Regions from separate parts of the Homo sapiens genome. Here region 1 is linked to region 2. The links are contacts of gene promoters, found by promoter capture Hi-C in blood cells and fetal thymus (Javierre and others, 2016). All regions are on one chromosome and are shown on one strand. The core of a region is centred on a gene start or on the middle of the fragment in contact, and the rest is flanking DNA. Distances in the headings are between cores, read along the strand shown. Region 1 has its middle 9.3 kb from the start of SRRM1. Region 2 holds the start of MYOM3-AS1 (MYOM3 antisense RNA 1).

The links. Contacts are between HindIII fragments. The CHiCAGO score rates a contact against its expected background, and 5 or more counts as called.
Region 1: a fragment that was not itself captured here is called in contact with the fragment with the promoter of MYOM3-AS1 in region 2 in 2 of 17 cell types (naive B cells and total B cells); the score reaches 7.3 in naive B cells.

The regions. Positions count from the first base shown.
Region 1 is chr1:24,632,634-24,635,333 of GRCh38, forward strand. No RefSeq gene overlaps it. Among named protein-coding and RNA genes, the nearest start is that of SRRM1, 9.3 kb to the right of the region's middle. The HindIII fragment of the contact is 3,320 bases long and covers 1-2,700 here.
Region 2 is chr1:24,065,434-24,068,133 of GRCh38, forward strand. MYOM3-AS1 (MYOM3 antisense RNA 1) reads left to right here and starts at 1,329. Exons shown (of 3, transcript XR_001737930.2): 1 at 1,329-1,409. It overlaps MYOM3 (myomesin 3), which reads right to left. Exons shown (of 37, transcript NM_152372.4): 27 at 2,537-2,596; 28 at 1,588-1,655; 29 at 458-568. The HindIII fragment of the contact is 6,627 bases long and covers 1-2,583 here.

The DNA of each region.
Region 1 (2,700 bases), core at 29-2,528, 570 kb after region 2:
AGAGAAGTCTTGTTTATCATATATGCTGAATGGTCTCTAGCCAGCCCTACATTTACAAGACAATGTGTTAAGGACCCTGCCTAGCTAGGGAATTTGGGTGTGGGAGGTAAAGAGAAAAAAGAAAGGCCACTTAGAGCAACAAGAGCTATTGATTATTTTTAAATGAAGTCAAGGATGATTTTTAATCACTGACCACTATGACCCCTGCTGTCCAAGTGTTGCTGGGCCTGAAGGTGAAGAAAATTGGCACAGGCCTCACTGGCTTTCCCTTCCTCTCACCTTGTGGATTTGGGAACCAGCTGGGAGGCAGTCACTGGCCAGATGAAGAAAGGCTTGTTTGCTCATTCACCAGAAAGATAAGATCTGTCTATATTCCCTCCTCCAGCCATTTGCTTTAACACCTACATGAATGTCAAGCAACTGGTAATGTGGTCTTAACCCTAAGCAGATGGACCAAACCCTGAAAGTAAGTTCTGTTGTATGTTGCCTGTGTGATTTTACACAACTCACTTTTTCTCACGCCTTACTGTACTCATCTGTAAAACAGGAATAATACCGATGTATTAGCTTGCTAGGGCTGCCATAACAAAGTATCACACACTGGGTGGCTTAAGCAACAGAAGTGTATTTTATCACTGTTCTGGAGGCTGGAAGTCCAAGATCAAGTGTCAGCAGGGTTGTTTTCTTCTGAAGCATCTCTCCTTGGCTTATAGGTGGCCGTCTGCTCCTTATGTCTTAATTTGGTCTTCCCTCTGTGTGTGCGTCTGTATCTTAATTTCCTCTTCTTCTTTATTTATTTATTTATTTTTGAGATAGGTCTTGCTCTGTCACCCAGGCTGGAGTGCAGTGGCACGATCTTGGCTCACTGCAACCTCCGCCTCCTAGGTTCAACAATTCTCCTGCCGCAGCCTCCCAAGTAGCGGGGACGACAGGCACCTGCCACTACGCCCAGCTGATTTTTGTGTTTTTAGTAGAGATGGGGTTTCACCATGTTGGCCAGGCTGGTCTCGAACCCCTGACCTCAAGTGATCCGCTCACCTCGGCCTCCCAAAGTGCTGGGATTACAGGCATGAGTCACTGTGCCCAGCCAATTTCCCCTTCTTATAAGGACTCCAATTATATTGGATAAGGACCCACCTAATGGTCTCATTCTAACTTAATTACCTTTTTAAGGACGCTATCTCCAAATACAGTCACATTCCAAGGTACTGGAGGTTAGGACCTCAATATGAATTTGGAGATGGTGAAGGGACAGGGCAGGGGTTGAGAGGGGGAGACAATTCGGCCAGGGGTTGGGAGGGGGAGACAATTCAGCCTGTAACAATCTGCTAGATATTATTGTGAAGACTGAATTAGCTAAAGTGTTTAAAGCATTAACACAAAGCCTGACATAATATGACCCCCCCAAAATGGTAATTATTATTATGAAATCCCATATAAAAGAAAAGTACTGCCATCTAAATACAGAGAGAACATAGACAGGTACAGGGAATTCCAACCATGGTTCTTCATTTCCCATCTGATGGGTGCTGCTCTTATTCTTCCAGCTCTTGTTTTAAAAATATGCAAACATGGGCTGGGCGCGGTTGCTCACACCTGTAATCCCAGCACTTTGGGAGGCCGAGATGGGCAGATCACGAGGTCGAGAGATGAGACTATCCTGGCCAACATGGTGAAACCCCGTCTCTACTAAAAATAACAAAAATTAGCCAGCCGTGGTGGTGTGCCTGTAGTCCCAGCTACTTGGGAGGCTGAGGCAGGAGAATTGCTTGAACCTGGGAGGCAGAGGTTGCAGTGAGCCGAGATCGTGCCACTGCACTCCAGCCTGGCGACAGAGCAAGACTCCACCTAAAATATATATATATGCAAACATGGCCGGGCACAGTGGCTCACGTCTGTAATCTCGGCAGTTTGGGAGGCTGAGGCGGGCGGATCACTTAAGGTCAAAAGTTCGAGATCAGCCTAGCAAACATGGTAAAACTCCATCTCTACTAAAAATACAAAAATTAGCCAAGTGTGTTGGCACATGCCTGTAATCCCAACTACTTAGGAGGCTGAAGTCAGAGAATTGCTTGAACCCGGGAGCCGGAGGTTGCAGTGAGCCGAGATCATGCCACTGCACTCCAGCCTGGGCAACAGAGTGAGACTCCATCTAAAAAAAAAAAAGAAAAGAAAAAAAATGCAGCCAGGCACGGTGGCTTACGTCTGTAATCCCAGCACTTTGGGAGGCCAAGACGGGAATATCACTTGAGGTCAGGAGTTCAAGACCAGCCTGGCCAACATGGTGAAACCCCATCTCTAATAAAAATACAAAAATTAGCCTGGCATAATGCCGCATGCCTGTAATCCCAGCTTTGCTCGGGAGGCTGTGGCAGGAGAATTGCTTGAACCCGGGAGGCGGAGGTTGCAGTGAGCTGATATCGCACCACTGCACTCCAGCCTGTGTGACAGAGCGAGACTCTGTCTCCAAAAAAAAAAAAAAAAAGCAAACATAATACTTGAATATAACATCTGTGGAGGTCTTTCCATGGGATGACAAGCAAAGATGTTACGTTTTTCTCTGATGCCTGTTGCTGTTATTCTTCTGGTAATATTATGAACTCTCCAAGGACTAACTTACACTTCCTTTGTGCCCCTTACTATCTAAGAACACCATGCTAAGCATATAGGAAGGGCTCAGTAAAAAACAACCAATCAAAC
Region 2 (2,700 bases), core at 79-2,578:
TGCCCAGATCTGCCTCACATGGAGACATCCTTCCTGTCCCGACTCCTAGACTGTTGGGGCAGGAAGGAGGCGTTGAAAGAGCATCCCTTCCAACCCGCTCATGTTGCAGATGAAAGCTGAGGTCAGAGAGCGACGGGGGCTAGCCCAAGCCTGCACAGTCATTGGCAGGGCCAGTACTGGAGCTAAAGAAAAAAATCAGTAATACTGATTCTGTCTCTATTGAAAATTTGGGGGCTTTAATAGTTTTTTTGCATTAATTTTGATTTTTTAGAATATTGCATACAATATTATTTATCTTGATTACTGAGTTTTTTGGTGCCTCTTAAATTTTGTGCTCAGGGCCTCACTTGCATCAACCTAGCCTCGGCCCTGCCCTGACTCCCAGCCCAGAGCTCTTGGCCCTCCCTGGCTTGCAGCCAAAGGAGAAAGTGAGCCCTGAAGCTGGAGCCACACTTGCCTCTTCAATGCAGAGAAGTCCCGTTCCCGTCTCTGGGTCATACTGACCATCTGGCATCTCTGCCCTCTGGAAGAACCACTGAAAGCGAGTCTCCTTCTTGGTGTTGGTCACCTGGGGAAGGTGGGGAATGAGGAGACTCTGTCAGGCTTGTTTCTTTTTGAGTAAAAACACACCTGTGCACACTTTCAGGCATCTCAGTGGAGTCCTTTCACATACCATGTGTCTCCTCTGCTGGCCTCTGGACTCTGAATTCTTGCTAATGGTTTTCCCTCTGCCTCTTGATCCCTGCCTTACTCTATTTTTCTTGGAAATGTCCATGTGCTTCAGTTAAATGTCATCTCCTCCAGGAAGCCTTTTTTTTGAAGCATCCCATAGTCACCCCCTCCATCACGATTCATCAATGTCCTGCCCCATCCGGGTCAAGCATGAGGGATGCTGTTTTCCAATGGTCCTGCCTTGAACATGGGCTCCCAAGGCCCACAGAGACCACTTCATCATCTTTGTACGTTCAGTACCGTGCAGAGTGGCACAAAATAGATGCTCTGAGTTTACTGAATGAATATGCTTCTGGGAGAGCACCCACCCTCCCCTTCCCCAGTTATCTAAACAGGCTGAAGAGTGCTAAGAAGGACCTTAGGCTTTGGAATCAGATAGACTTGTTCAAACCTGGGCTCTCCCTCTTACCGTGTGGCCTTGAGCTATTTCTCCATTTGTTTTCTCATCTATGAAGTGAGGATAGTAATGCCTGTGTCACAGATGATTGTGAGGCGGATGAAATAATACTGTGAGTCTCTGAGCACAGGGTAATCATAAACACAGGGATACCCCTCAACATATAAACCCTCGTGGGCTCCTAGACCCCCTGACCCCTCAGAACCCCTTCTGGAGCCACTAGGATCTCGTTCAAGGCTGGTCCACCTCACACGAATCCTACCCCATGGGCGCTGGGAAGGTGGGTTTGCTTTTTGGGTTACGTGTGGTCTCCTCGGGGGTACTTTCTGTGTGTGCGATCAGCCAAGCACAGAGTATGGAATTTAGGGGGCCGGGTGGGCAGGGACAGCAACTGGGCTTGGGGACAAGCCACAGGTCCCCCTGCACTGGGCCTGGGGGCAGGGCAGGGCAGGACTTGCCTTGCACGTCAGCTGCACTTGGCAGTCCTCCGTGACCTTCCACTGCAACGGCCGCTCAAAATAGGGACCTGTGCGTGCAAAACAAATGTGCCCACTGTCAGAGAGCCAGGCTCAGCCAGGGTGCCACCTGTGTCCAGGCAGTGCTGGGGGGAGGGACAGCTAATGGCTATGGACTTCTCAGATGCTGCCTCTGCCAGGGCTGGGACTGGGGTGAGGCAGGGGCGGTGCTCAGAGCGCAAATTTCTTTCTTTCTTTCTTCCTTCCTTTCTTTCTTTCTTTCTTTCCTTCTTTCTTTCTTTCTTTCCTTCTTTCTTTCTTTCTTTCTTTCTTTCTTTCTTTCTTTCTTTCTTTCCTTCTTTCTTTCTTTTTCCTTCCTTCCTTCCTTCCTTCCTTCCTTCCTTCCTTCCTTCCTTCCTTCCTTCCTTTGTTTCCTTCCTTCTTTCTTTCTTTCTTTATTTTTGAGACAGAGTCTCGCTCTGTTGCCTAGGCTAGAGTGCAGTGGCGCAATCTCGGCTCACTGCAAGCTCCGCCTCCTGGTTTCAAGGATTCTTGTGGCTCAGCCTCCTGAGTAGCTGGAATTACAGGCGTGTGCCACCATGCTCGGCTAATTTTTGTATTTTTCATAGAGATAGGGTTTCACCATGTTGGCCAGGCTGGTCTTGAACTCCTGGCCTCAAGTGATCTGACCACCTTGGCCTCCCAAAGTGCTAGGATTACAGGTGTGGGGCACTGTGCCTGGCTTCAGGGTGCAAAATTTAAGAGGGCTCAGCTCTCACCCTCAGGTCAGGCAAGAGCTATTTTGATCTGGCACTGGGACAGAACTGGACTGAATGACAGTGGACCTCCCTTGGGGACCCAGCAGGGCTGGGGTTCCCATTAATCCGCAGTCCAGCATCTCTAGCACGAACCAGTGGCCAGGGATTTTGAACTTCACCCCAGCAGCTCTTACCCTGTTTTCTCTTCCAGTCCCTTCTCTTAGCATCTGCCTTCCTCAGAAGCTTGTCAAAATCTGTGAACACAGAGGGAGGAACTGGCATGAGCCGAGAGGAGTGTGGGTCTGGAGAGGGGACATGGGGTGGACAGAAGTCGAGGGGGCTGTGCTCAGCAGGCTGC